3 separate regions of the Homo sapiens genome follow, and regions 1 and 3 are each linked to region 2. Evidence: promoter capture Hi-C in 16 types of primary human blood cells and fetal thymus (Javierre and others, 2016). All regions are on one chromosome and are shown on one strand. The core of a region is centred on a gene start or on the middle of the fragment in contact, and the rest is flanking DNA. Distances in the headings are between cores, read along the strand shown. Region 1 has its middle 11 kb from the start of CELF5. Region 2 holds the start of ZNF77 (zinc finger protein 77). Region 3 overlaps GNG7 (G protein subunit gamma 7).

Evidence for each region. The method cuts DNA at HindIII sites, captures the fragments that hold promoters and counts their contacts. A CHiCAGO score of 5 or more calls a contact.
Region 1: a fragment that was not itself captured here is called in contact with the fragment with the promoter of ZNF77 in region 2 in 1 of 17 cell types (megakaryocytes); the score reaches 6.1 in megakaryocytes.
Region 3: a fragment that was not itself captured here is called in contact with the fragment with the promoter of ZNF77 in region 2 in 1 of 17 cell types (megakaryocytes); the score reaches 5.4 in megakaryocytes.

What each region holds. Positions count from the first base shown.
Region 1 is chr19:3,211,355-3,216,135 of GRCh38, forward strand. No RefSeq gene overlaps it. Among named protein-coding and RNA genes, the nearest start is that of CELF5, 11 kb to the right of the region's middle. The HindIII fragment of the contact is 4,507 bases long and covers 1-4,410 here.
Region 2 is chr19:2,943,433-2,948,315 of GRCh38, forward strand. ZNF77 (zinc finger protein 77) reads right to left here and starts at 1,539. Exons shown (of 4, transcript NM_021217.3): 1 at 1,406-1,539. The coding sequence starts at 1,408. RefSeq lists silencers at 1,235-1,314, 1,455-1,704 and an enhancer at 1,775-1,934. The HindIII fragment of the contact is 3,842 bases long and covers 1-3,782 here.
Region 3 is chr19:2,659,776-2,664,281 of GRCh38, forward strand. The region is part of intron 1 of GNG7 (G protein subunit gamma 7); the gene reads right to left. Among named protein-coding and RNA genes, the nearest start is that of MIR7850, 31 kb to the left of the region's middle. The HindIII fragment of the contact is 2,766 bases long and covers 98-2,863 here.

The DNA of each region.
Region 1 (4,781 bases), core at 907-3,406, 270 kb after region 2:
AGCATGGGGCCGCTGGCCACTGGGGATGGAATGGCGGGGGCAGTGCTTACCTGACCCCGGAGCATGGGGCCGCTGGCCACTGGGGATGGAATGGTGGGGGCAGTGCTTGGGCTTCCCTGGGCGGCGAGCAGAGGCCAGGTTCGGCCCCCACGTGCTGTGTGGCCCTGGGGCATGGGGGCTGTGCCTCCCTGGACCAAATTTTACCAGTTCAGGGGGCTCTAGGGTCCAGGGGTTTGACCTTCTTGGGGTCCTGCGTGATTCTCCAGGAGCTTAGCAGGGCCAAGAGTGGACAGTGGCTGCCCACCTCTGTGCAGGCAGAAGGTGGCTTTGGCCCCATCGTGGACCCAGGCAAACCCCATTTTAGAGGAAAAGCCAGCCCATCATCTTCCCTGCTAACATACACAGGTAATTTTTCCTTTTTTTTTTTTTTTTTAGAGACAGGGTCTCACACCCGGCATGGTGGCTTCACGTCTGTAATCCCAGCACTCTGGGAGTCAGAGGCAGGAGGATCACTTGAGGTCAGAGTTTGAGACCAGCCTGGCCAACATGATGAAAACCCGTCTCTGCTAAAAATATAAAAATTAGCCGGGGGTGGTGGTACACATCTGTAGTCCCAGCTACTCGGGAGGCCGAGGCAGAAGAATCCATTGAACCTGGGAAGCGGAGGTTGCAGTGAGCCAAGATCATGCCACTGCACTGCAGCCTGGGCGACAGAGCGAGACTTTGACTCAAAAAACATAAAATAGGGTCTTGCTCTGTCACCCAGGCTGGAGTGCAGTGGTGCAATCATAGCTCACTGCAGCCTTGACCTGGGCTCAAGTGATCCTCCTGCCACAGCCTCCCAAGTAGCTGGGACTGCAGGCAAATGCCACCATGCCCGGCTACATTTTGTAAATATTTTTGTAGAGATTGGATCTTGCCATGTTGCCCAGGCTGGTCTTGAACTCCTGGCCTCAAGCAATCCTCTCACTTCAGCCTCTGAACGCACTAGGAATACAGGCATGAACCACTGTGCCCGGCCGGATTAGTTTCATTCAACTATCGATTCAGCGAACACTTGAACTCTGCTCTGCCAGGTCCTGTGCCAGGCTCAGGGATACAGGCGTGTGCAAGAGACGCTGGCCTGGACGCCATGGGGCTCGCAGTCCACTGTGGGAGTTGGATAATAAGTGGTCAAGTAGGTGGGCTGCCTTCAGATGGTGATCAATGGCTGGGTGCTGTTTTACAATTGAGTCCACACTGGAGGCTCCCTGAGGAGGGACTTTGAGGTTTTGTTTTGTTTGCTTGTTTGTTTTTTTGAGACAGTCTTGCTCTGTCACCCAGGCTGGAGTGTAGAGGCCCTATCTTGACTCACGGCAACCTTCGTCTCCTGGGTCCAAGCGATTCTCCTGCTGCAGCCTCCCTGAGTAGCTGGGACTAGAGAGGTATGCCACCAAATTTTGTATTTTTAGTAGAAATCAGGTTTTGGCATATTGGCCAGGCTGACCTTGAACTCCTAACCTCAGGAGATCTGCCCGCCTCGGCCTCCCGAAGTGCCGGGACTACAGGTGTGACACCACGCCCGGCCTGTTTGAGTTTGACTCTGTCACCCGGGCTGGAGTGCAGTGATGTGTTCTCGGCTCACTGCAACTTCCTTCTCCTGGGTTCAAGCAATTCTCATGCCTCAGCCTCCTGAGTAACTGGGACTACAGGCACCTGGCTAAATTTTTTTATTTTTAGTAGAGACAGGGTTTCACCATGTTGGCCAGGCTTGCCTCAAACTCCTGACCTCCGGTGATTCCCCGTCGCAGCCTCCCAAAGTGTTGGGTTTATGGGCGTGAGCCACTGCGCCCGGCCTGGAGGGGGCTTTTGAGTGAAATTGGAATGACAAGGATTATTACATCATGTGGAAATGTGGGGACAGTGGTTAAGGCAGTGAGCACAGCCGGTGCAAAGGCCCTGGGGCAGGATCGCGCCTGGTGTGTTGGAGGAACAGTGAGGAGGCCCATGTGGCTGGAGCAGAGTGAGCTGGGGGAGAGAGTGAGGCAGGAGAGAGAGGGAGGAGGGGGAGAAAGGAAGGGGAGAGGGAGGAGGGAGAGGGAGGAAGCAGGGAGGTTTCAGGCCATGCAGGGCCTCCTGGGGGAAGGGGAGGGTAAGGAGAGCAGAAATGGTGTCTGACCTTCACTGAATCTGGAAAGGTCACCGGCAGCCAGAGGACAGTTATGAAAATGAAACGAGGCCGGGCGCTGGGGCTCACACCTGTAATCCCAGCACTTTGGGAAGCCAAGGCAGGCGGATCACAAGGTCAAGAGATGGAGACCAACCTGGCCAACATGGTGAAGCCCCGTCTCTACTAAAAATACAAAAATTAGCCGGGCGTGGTAGCACGCACCTGTAGTCCCAGCTACTCGGGAGGCTGAGGCAGGAGAATCCTGTGAACCCAGGAGGCGGAGGTTGCAGTGAGCTTAGATCGTGCCGTTGCACCCCAGCCTGGGCGACAGAGCATGACTCTGTCTCAAAAAAAAAAAAAGAAAGGAAATGACATCGAGCTGCCCGTGTTGGGCACATGTGAGGCCTCTTTCCGGGGCTCCCTCGGTGCCCTCAGGCCTCACCTTAGCCCCGGTCAACCCTGGGCAGCAGTGAACGAGGAAGACAAAGACGTCCCCCCAGCAAGGGTATTGTACTACCTCCCAGAGGCCAGGTCCAGGGGCCATGATCTCTTCCTGGAGGCCTTTTAAGTTGATAAAACATCAGCTAATGTCCCTTGAAACCAGCACAGTTTCTCTCCAGAGGTGCTGTCCACTCTATGCATCTTTCTCATTTTTTATATTTTTTGTAGAGATGGAGTCTTGCTATTTGCACAGGCTGGCCTCTGTCTCCTGGCCTCAAGTGATGCTCCCGCCTCAGCCTCTCAAAGCTGTGGGAATACAGGTGTGAGCCACCGCGCCTGGGCCCCTGGGTAGATGCTTTTTTTTTTTTTTTTTGCTTTTTTTTTTGAGACGGAGTTTCGCTTTTGCTGCCCAGGCTGGAGTGCAGTGGCACGATCTCAGCTCACTGCAACCTCCACCTCCCAGGTTCAAGTGATTTTCCTGCCTCAGCCTCCCGAGTAGCTGGGATTACAGGCACCCGCCACCATGCCTGGCTAATTTTTTTATTTTTATTTATTTGTTTATTTATTGAGATGGAGTCTTGCTGTGTCACCCAGGCTGGCATGCAGTGGCACAATCTCGGCTCACTGCAACCTCTGCCTCCTGGGTTCAAGTGTTTCTCCGGCCTCAGCCTCCTGAGTAGCTGGGATTACAGGTGCGTGCCACCACACCCAGCTAATTTTTGTATTTGTAGTAGAGACAGGGTTTCACCGTGTTGGTCAGGCTGGTCTTGAACTCCTGACCCCGTGATCCACCTGCCTCAGCCTCCCAACGTGCTGGGATTACAGGCGTGAGCCACTGAACCTGGCCAATTTTTGTTATTTTTAGTAGAGATGGGGTTTCGCCATGTTGGCCAGGCTGGTCTCAAACTCCTGACCTCAGGTGATCCACCTGCTTCGGCCTCCCAAAGTGCCGGGATTACCTGTGTGAGCCACCGCGCCCAGACTTGGGTAATTGCTTTTCAGATGCTCATGTTACAGATGGTAACATGGAGGCCGAGCACAAGGGGTTCAGACGTGGATTGGACGAATCTGAGGGCCACGCCATTAGCCACATACTGAGTGGAGTGGGCGAAAAGGGCCCAGGTTTAGGTCACCGGGATAACCAGTGTCCAGAGATGGACGGCACTTACCTGAGGCCACAGAGCAGGTGAGGATGAGCCCCAGCGGGAGCGAGTAGCCAGGGAGCCGGCCTGCCTCCTGGGCTGGGGAGAAGACACTGGAAGAGCCTGGAGACCGCCCAGCCTCCCTGATTCCACGCTAGACATTTAATTCTTTCTTTTTCTTTTGAGACAGAGTCTCGCCCTGTCACGCAGGCTGGAATGCAGTGGCGTGATCTTGGCTCACTGCAGCCACCGCCTCCTGGGTTCAAGTGATTCTCCTGCCTCAACCTCCCGAGTAGCTGGAATTTGCAGGTGCCCGCCACCATGCTTGGCTAATTTTTTTTTTTTTTCAGCCAGTGGTGTAAATTTTCCTTTAAGAGATAGTAAGGTGTTTTCTGTCACCCAGGCCGGTGTATAGTGGCGCAATCATGGCTCACTGCAACCTAGACCTCCCAGGCTCAAGCGACCCTCCCACCTCGGCCTCCCAAGTAGCTGGGACTGCTGGTATGTGCCACCGCGCCCGGCTTATTTTTGTATTTTTGTAATTTTGTAGAGATAGGGTTTCTCTTTGTTGCGCAGGCTGGTCTGGAACTCGTGGGCTCCAGCGATTCTCCTGCCTTGGTCTCCCAAAGTAGTGGGATTACAGGCGTGAGCCACCACGCCAGCCACCTGGTCAAATGAAGCTTTTTTTTTTTTTTTCTGAGACGGAGTCTGGCTCTGTCGCCCAGGTTGGAGTGCAGTGGCACGATCTCGGCTCACTGCAAGCTCCGCCTCCCGGGTTCACGCCACTCTGCTGCCTCAGCCTCCCGAGTAGCTGGGACTACAGGTGCCCGCCACCACGCCTGGCTAATTTTTTGTACTTTTAGTAGAGATGGGGTTTCACCGTGTTAGCCAGGATGGTCTCCATCTCCTGACCTCGTGATCCGCCCGCCTCGGCCTCCCAAAGTGCTGGGATTACAGGCGTGAGCCACCGCGCCCGGCCGCAAATTAAGCATTTTTAAAAGAGCTGATTGATATCAAGGAAAACATCAAATAGTACTGGTGCCCCTCAC
Region 2 (4,883 bases), core at 289-2,788:
CTCTCCGCAGGCCCCTGAACTTTGGCCCCCCCGAGTCTGAGCAAGCAGTAAGTGTGGAGTCCCCTGTCACCTCCCCTGAGCTAGCTGACCACGAGGAGGTACATTTACTGTCAACCTCCTTTCTGCTTGTCCCCTAAAACGTTCCTCCAAACCTTTTCTTGTGTATGAAAGTAAAGCCTTTTCCTGGTTGATTTTGAGACCTGGCAGGTTTCGGAGGCTGGGGCTTATCCCTATTTTTCTCTCTCCTTCTCTAGCCAGGATTTTTTTTTTTTTTTTTTTTTTTGGTTTTTGTTTTTGAGACGGAGTCTTTCTCTGTCGCCAGGCTGGAGTGCAGCGGCGCCATGTCGGCTCACTGCAAGCTCCACCTCCCAGGTTCACGCCATTCTCCTGTCTCAGCCTCCCTGGTAGCTGGGATTGCAGGCGCCCGCCACCACGCCGGGCTAATTTTTGTATTTTTAGTAGAGACGGGATTTCGCCATGTTGTCCAGGCTGGTCTGGAACTCCTGACCTCAGGTGATCCGCCCGCCTCGGCCTCCCAAAGTGCTGGGATTACAGGCGTGAGCCACCGCGCCCGGCCCAGGATTTTATTATTTGACAGGCTCCAGGACAGGGCACCACCTCCTCCTTGGCAGACCTTCCCAAACTGACCACCAAGCCCCTGACGGCTCCTGCCCTCTCCTCCCACTCTCCCCGATCCCCTGACTGCCTCTACTGTCCCCCAACACATCCCTCGAGCCCGACTCCCTTTACTGTCCCCCCAAACTTCCCTCAAGCCCCTGATCGCCTCTACTGCCCCCCTTAAAGTGCCCCTGAGCCCCTGACTGCTTCTGCTGTCCCCTCGAGCTGCCCCCAAACTCCCGACTGCAGCTACTGTCCCCCTAAACTGCCTTCGAGCCCCTGATCACCTGTCCCCCAAAACTGCCCCTTCAAACCCATGACCGCCTCTACGGCCCCCTCAAACTGTCCCCGAGTTCCTGACCGCTGCTATTGGCCCCCTAATCTGCCCTTGAGCCTGACTCCCTTCCACTGAACCCCCAAACTGCCGCCGAGCCCCTGACCGTGTCTGTTCCCGCAAACTGCCCCTGTGCCCCTTAAACCTCTACTGTCCACTTAAATTGCCTCAAGCCCCTGACCACCTCTGCTGTCCCCACAAGCTCTCCCCAAACTCCTGACCTGTACTGTCCCCAGAAACTACCCCTCGAGCCCCTGACCGCTTTTGCTGTCACCCCAGACTGCCCCCAGCCCTACCCCTCGGCCGCTGTGACCACGTCCCCGGGGCCCAGGCGCTCGTCGTGCGCCGCCCCGCGCGTCCCTCAGCTTTCTCCGGCTGCGAACTCGGGCGGAAGCCGGTTCCTGCCGCCCCACCTCGCCCTGGGCCCGGGCTCGGCTCCCGCCCGGCACTCACCATGTCCCGCCCGCTCCTGGGCTCTCCAGGGTTAGCGCCCCGCGGTCCAGCGACCGGCGCAGGTGAGCACGACAGGACACCTGAGCCGCTCGGGGTAGGCGGGGAAGCGCGCAAGGCAGAGGGGAACTCGGCTTACCGTCCTCGGGGTCTGATTGGACAGATCTCGGGAAGTGGAGACTCTGATTGGACAGTGCTGTCGACTCCGCACCCCTGATTGGAGAATTCTCCAGTCCGTCCCCCTAGCGCCCTTGATTGGGCAGGGCTCCGCTTCGGATTAACGTCTCTGATTGGACAGTTCCCTAGGCCCCGCCCCTGCCTGTCCTGATTGGATAATTCTCTCCTCAGTGACGGGCTCGTCGAGAACACGCGTGGCTGACCCTCTAGCCGGGCAGCCGCGGATCTGGGAGAACTCACTCCAGTCCAGGGAGGGCGCGGCGTCCTCCTCCCTGACTGCACGGCAACTCCAGACTCAGTTTCCCCTCGGAGCGGCCCCTCGTGCGGGGAGGAGAGGAAGGGCACGGAGTCCCATGGGGCGGAGTCCTGCGTGGGGGCGGGACCCGCGTGCGTGACGTCACCGTGCTGTCCCGCGTGGGCGCGGACGCCTGGGGTCCAGAGACCTGGAGATCTGGAGACCAGACGACGAGGCCCCAGGAGGCCGGACCCCACCAGGCGCTCCCTGTGTTCTTAAAACTCTCGGCCGGGCGCGGTGGTTCACGCCGGTAATCCCAGCACCGTGAGAGGCGGAGACCGGCGGATCATCAGAGGTCAGGAGTTCAAGTCCAGCCTGACCAAAATGGCGAAAACCACTTCTCTCCTAAAAATACAAAAATTAGCTGGGCACGGTGGCGGGCGCCTGTAATCCCAGCTACTCCGGAGGCTGAGGCAGGAGAATCGCTTGAACCCAGGAGGCGGAGATTGCAGTGAGCCAAGATCAGGACACTGCACTCCAGCCTGGGCAACAAGAGCGAAACTGAGTCTCAAAAAAAAAAAAAGCAGCCCTCCCACAAACAGAACCACGTAAGGTCATGAAGAGAGAGGTCTCACATTTATATGCTTAATAACGAAAAAGACTCTACAAAAACCACAGGCTTAAACAAAAAATACTTTTACAGGGACACTCAGACTGGTGTGACCCTTGTTACTGATCTTTGTAGACAAGGATAATTATTTCTGAAAAATGATGTAATCCTCATTTAAAATTTTTTTTTTCCTTTATAAACCTTTGTCCCAGTCTGGGCAACATGGCAAAACCCCATATATACAAAAAATACAAAAATTAGCTGGGAATAAAGGAGTGTGCGCCTATGGTCCCAACGACTTGATAGGCTGAAGCAGGAGGATCGCTCGAGCCCGTGGGGATTGAGGCTGCAGTGAGCTGTGATCTCACCATTGTACTCCAGCCTGGGCAACAGAGACCCCCGTCTCAAAAAAATGAAAACCAAAAACAACCTTTGTCTTCCTTTACCTCCCTGAATAAGCACATAGTTTGCTATGCCGCGCATATTCCCACTGCAATGAACTGTTACCACCGTTTTTAGACAGCCTGTTATTTAGGTCGACACAGTAAAAACATGAATTACGACAATTATGTTTGTATGTAAAATGGCAAGCGATATAGAGTTTATACTTCTACTCTGTCTCAAGCTGGAAAGTCTTTTCGGAGATGAGCAGTCGCGTTCCAGGCTTTAGGAATTGCGGCTCAACTGAATAAAAGTATTCAGAATTTTCACGTCGAGTTCAAATTTATTTAAACTTCTATGATTATTTTCTCAAATGAGTTAAAATAAGAATTCAATTACCATAGGAACAGTACAGCCTTTTACTTTAAGAAATTCTCTAGGGCCGGGCGCAGTGGCTCACGCCTATAATCCCAGCACTTTGGGAGGCTGAGGCAGGTGGATCACCTGAGGTCAAGAGTTCGAGACCAGCCTGGCCAACATGGCAAAACCCTTGTCTCTACTAAAAATATAAAAATTAGCCGGGCGTGGTGGCACATGCCTGTAATCCCAACTACTTGGGAGGCTGAGGCAGGAGAATCACTAGAGCCCGGGAGGCGGGGATTGCAGACCCAAGATCGCACCACTGCACTCCGCCTGGGTGACAGAGCGAGACTCCATCTCAAAACAAAAACAAACAAAAAAACGCCATTTGAACGACACGTTTTGTTTCCCCCCGCTTTATTATTTTTAAAAAGTACCATGGTGTACACATTGCATTACAATTGTTTTTGTGGCTCAATGAAAAAAATAAATCCTCCACCTCTCTTCATCTTAATAGGTGACTTCCTTACTCCTTACAGATGTAAGATGATGTAAGCTGATGTAACAAGGTCTCTCTAAATAGACAGTGGACTTGTTTCCAATCTTTTGCTACTCAAAGCTTGTCTTATGTTGCACCACCATGCCTGGCAGATTTTTGTATTTTTTGGTAGAGATGGGGTTTCACCATGCTGGCCAAGTTGGTCTGGAACTCCTGACCTCAAGTGATCCGCTTGCCTCAGCCTTCATCAATGGATATTAATGAAGCTTAGGATACTCACATTGTGTCAAAGATAAGAGGCAAGGAAACTACAAAGAAATTGGAAGTGATAGGAAACAGTGGAATAACTGTCAGAGAGGAAGCAGTGGGAACAAAAGACAGGAAAGAAAAACATGCCTATTATCAGAGTCCCTGAAGAAGTAAACAGTAGCACAGCTTTTCACCTTACATCATTAAGAAACACATAAATAGGCCGGGCGCGGTGGCTCACGCCTGTAATCCCAGCACTTTGGGATGCCAAGGTGGGCAGATCACCTGAGGTCCAAAGTCCGAGACCACCCTGACAAACATGGAGAAACCCCATCTCTACTAAAAATACAAAAATGAGCTGGACATGGTGGCAAATGCCTGGAACCCCCGCTAATCGGGAGGCTGAGGCAGGAGAATCACTTGAACCCAGGAGGTGGAGGTTGCAGTGAGCCGAGATCATGCCACTGCACTCCAGCCTGGGCAACAAGATCAAAACTCTGTCTCAAAAAAAAAAAAAAAAAAAGGAAAAGAAACACATAAATACTATAATAAATGTAGCAACGTACCTTGCAGAAGATCCAAAGGTTGCTTGTGGAATTGGGCAAGGGAATCTAAATTTCCAGAGTTAGTATGCAGTGGTGGAGAGAGGGTTGTCGGAAATCTAATGTTAAGTTTTAAAGCAGAGGAAACAGTGTGACTTGGTATTTGAGGTGTGTGCGCGCATTTTCTGTTTTCCTACCAGACTCTTCAGTTATGTGCAATTTCTTCTGTTCACTTAGTGTTTCTTAGGGTTGAAACTGAACATAAACAAATATGAAATTCGTGTTATACTCACATTACTCAACATATCAGGTAATTTGTGAAGACAGAGATGTTTCCTGATCAATTGTTCTAGCCGACTGACAGCCAATATCTACATAGAATTATTTCAAAGTCGCAGGGTGCGGTGGCTCACGTCTGTAATCCCAGC
Region 3 (4,506 bases), core at 231-2,730, 280 kb before region 2:
GAGGGAGGGATGAGGGAAGGAAGAGGAAAGGAGAGACACCCACTTTAGACAACATGATCCGTAAGCACTGACATTTATGACTGGATCCCCTTCCACAAGCTTCCTGAATAAGCCCCAGAGAGAAGACTGGTCAGTCTTGGCCAAATGGATTTTCTGCTTTCCCCCGAGCCCCTGTGAGTATCATCACAATGTAATACCATGAGGATCAAAATCTCCTGGCCACTTAAGCCTGGATTAACCCACACCAGAGCCATCCTCCTCACCGAGGGGCCATGGCGGCGAGCGGATCACACAGCAGTCCTCATGGAATCCGTCCCAATTAGCCTCTGTCGGATTACTCACAGAACCTGCCATCCGTGGAAGGCAGATTAGCCTAGGATGCATGTGTAAATCCCATTTGGTGAACGAAAGCATATTCTGGAGATGATTAGCTTATTTCTGCAAGATGGCATCAAGTGGGAGATAACACATCTTCATCCCCGTTACACCCACAAGGCTCTGTGTAATTCTCCCTGAGCCTCATCCCTTTCCAATCCTGATTCCCTGTGGGAGAAACACAATTCCTTCCATTGAAGGGTTGATGCTGTGGGTAAGACCTTTTCATCCTCCTGCTCCAAAACCACAGGGAAGGGAGAAACTGGACGTATATTTTTCATCTGTTTACCATGTTCCTGCCCTCAAAGGTACAAGAAGACAAGCTAGAAAGTAGACGAGGCTGGGTGTGGTGGCTCACGCCTGTGATCCCAGCACGTTGGGAGGCTGAGATGGGAGGATGGGGGCCTAGGAGTTCAAGACCAGCCTGGGCAACATAGTGAGACACCCCCACCACCAACACCCCACCACCATCTGTACAAAAAATACAAAAATTAGCCAGTCGTGATGGTGTGCCCCTGTAATCACAGCTACTTGGAAGCCTGAGGCAGGAGGATCACTGGAGCCCAGGAGTTCAAGACTGTGGGGAGCCATGCTCATACCACTGCACTCCAGCCTGGGCAATGGAGGAAGACCCTGTCTCAAATAAATAAATAAAGACACAGTGACTTTTGCTTGTTCTTTCTTGGGTCATGTGTTCTGGGGGAAGCCAGCTGCCATGTTGTGGGGAAATGCAGGCAGTGCTGTGAAGAAATCCATGTGTTGCAGAAATGGGCCCTCCAGGCCGGGCACGTTGGCTCACACCTGTAATCCCAGTACTCTGGGAGGCCGAGGCGGGCAGATCACCTGAGGTTGGGAGTTCGAGGTCAGCCTGACCAACATGGAGAAACCCTGTCTCTACTAAAAATACAAAATTAGCCGGGCGTGGTGGTGCATGCCTGTAATCCCAGCTACTAGAGAGGCTGAGACAGGAGAATTACTTGAACCTGGGAGGCGGAGGTTGCAGTGAGCCAAGATCGTGCCACTGCACTCCAGCCTGGGCAACAAGAGCAAAACTCTGTCTCAAAAAAAAAAAAAAGAAAAGGAAAGAAAGAAAGAAAAGAAAGAAAGAAAGAAAGAAAGAAAAGAAAGAAAGAAAGAAAGAAAGAAAGAAAGAGAAAGAAAGAAAGAAAGAAAGAAAGAAAGAAAGAAAGAAAGAAAGAAAGAAAGAAAGAAATGGGCCCTCCAGGCTGGGCACAGTGGCTCATGCCTATAATCCCAGCACTCTGGGAGGCCAAGGTTGGGGCAGGTCATTTGAGATCAGGAATTTGAGACCAGCCTGGCCAACACAGTGAAACCCTATCTCTACTAAAAAAAAATATAAAAATTAGCCAGTAATTGGCTAATTACTGTAATTATGCCTGTAATCTCAGCTACTCGGGAGGCTGAGGCAGAAGAATTGCATGAATCCAAGAGGCAGAGGTTGCAGTGAGCCAAGATTGTGCCACTGCACTCTAGCCTGGCTGACAAAGTGAGACTCCATTAAAAAAAAAAAAAAAAAAAAAGGAAGGAAGGAAGGAAAAAAGGAAAGAAGGAAGGAACGACTCATTTGGGCATTTTGCCCTCCTGTCAAGGCCAGTTGGAAGCTGAGGCCTCCACCAACAGCCACATGAGGGCGCCCTCTTGAAAGCAGCTCCTCCAGCTCCAATCGAGCCTTCAGATGATACAGCCCCAGCACATTCACTGCCAGAATCACCCAGTGGAGCTGCTTCCTAACTCCTGAGTGAGGGTGGAAAAAACTCAAACTCAAATTGCTTTTCCTCTTGCTCTCACATCAACAGCAATCAACATGGCCAGGTGCAGTGGCTCACGCCTGTAATCCCAGCACTTTCAGAGGCCAAGGCAGGTGGATCACTTAAGATCAGGAGTTTGAGACCAGCGTGACCAACACGGTGAAACCCTGTCTCTACCAAAAATACAAAAATTAGCCAGGCGTGGTTGTGGGCACCTGTAATCTCAGCTACTCAGGAGGCTGAGGCAGGAGAATCACTTGAACCTGGGGGGCGGAGGCTGCAGTGAGCAGAGATTGCACCATTGCACTCCAGTCTGGGCGACAGAGCGAGACTCCATCTCAAAAAAAAAAAAAAAAAAAAATCAACCCAAGATATTTCTGTGACCAAATGTGAGAGGAGTTTCCCCACACACCAGCTAGCTGTCCCCTAATTCGATTCAGTTCAATTCAATTCAGGTGCTATCTACCTGGAGACAGCCTTGGACCCCACAGGTTGAGGGCTAAATCCCCCCACAAGACTGCCCCTAACCTCTTCAGATACCAGTAGCAAGTTTGGGCCTCCAGAACTTCCAACTGACCAGCTTGAAGTTAGGGTTGGGTTTAATTTACTACAGCAGCTCTCGGAATTCAGGGAAACACATTTACTGGTTTAATATAAAGCATATTACAAAGAATACAGACGAAAAGATGCATAGGATGAGGTATAGGGAAGAAGGGCAAAGCTTCCTTGGCATGCTACCCTTCAGGAACCTCCATGTGCTCAGCTATCTCAAAGTTCTCCAAACCCCGTCCTTTTGAAGTTTTATGGAGGCTTTACTTCATAGGCATGACTGATCGCGTCACTGGCCACTGGTCATCACCTCAACCTTCAGCCCTTCTCCCCTCCCCAGAGGCTGGAGGGTACAGCTAAAGGTTCCAGCCCTCTCATCCTGCCTTGATCTTTCTGGTGGCCAGACCATTCCTGAAAATAACTAGAAGCTGTCAGCCATCAGTCGACTTATCATCATACAAAAAGACATGACTTTGCAGATTCCAAGGATTTTAGGAGTTCTGCACCAGAAAAAAATCAGGACAAAGACCAAATAATATAATAAATATAATGCAAGTAATATAATATCCCACTGACCCACAGAAACTGCAGGATAGTAAATGCTTGCTGTTTAAGCTAAGTGTTGGGGTAATTTGTTACACAGTGATAGATAACTGGTACATCTGCAAAGGGAAGGAAGGGCTGATCCACATGACTCCTCCAAGCAGATGTTGCTATAGTTTGAATGTGTCTCCCAAAAAGCATATTGTAGAAACTTTAATTCCCAATGCCACCATGTTGAGAGGTGAGAACTTTAAGAGGTGATTAGGTTATGAAGGCCCTACCCTCATTAATGCCATCTCTCTTTCTCTCTCCCTCTCACCCTTTCTCTCTCTCTCCCCCCCCTCCTCTTTCTTCCCCAGTTCCCCAATCTTTCATATATGTGCTCTTTTGCCCTTCCACCTCTGACGCAGCAAGAAGGCCCTCACCAGATGCCAGCACCTCGACATTGGACTTCCCAGTCCCTAGAACCGTTAAGAAACAAATCTCTATTATTTATAAATTATCCAGTCTATGGCATTCCATTATAGCAGCACAAAATAAAGACAGGTGTGTAGTCAAACATTACCTTTTCCTAAAAGCCAGCAATTGGATTTTTCATTTTCTTGTTTTTCCAATATCTATCAACCTGATAATTGGGAGAGATGCAAAAGCCCAGATGGATAAGGTACATTCACTGAGGGCAAATCAGAAGAATGACCAGGCCAAGAAAATGATTCATTTTGGCATTTTGCAAATTATCAAGATATGCATGCCAGCACCAGTTTTTAAAACTGAACAAATCCACTGGCTTTTATCTATTTCCTACTAAAGCAACGTGGCTTGATCTTGACACTATTAAACTGGGGCTTGATTATTCTCTGGGGTGGGGCCGTTCTGGGCACTGCACAGTGCTGAGTAGCATCCCTGGTCTCCACCTACTCCAGGCCAGGAGCACCCCCAAGTCACGGTACCCACAAATGTCCCCAGACATTACCAGTGTCCCCCAGGGGGCAGGCTTGCCCCCAGTTGAGACCCAATGCTCTAAGGCATGTCCCTCAAGGGCAGGACAGCCAGGGACCTGACATTTGATGACAGGCCTATCCTCCACCGCCCCCCAGGCCCGGCTGCACTTCCTCCTCTGGGAACTGAGTGGGCAGGACGGGCTGTCAGAGCCCCCTTCCCTTCCCACGCTGACATTCTGCCAGCACGTGGCAGGGGCGTCTTGTCTCGTTGGAGGCTGGATATAGAAACACAGCCCTGTCCTTTGTGCCATCGCTGAAGTTGTCAACCT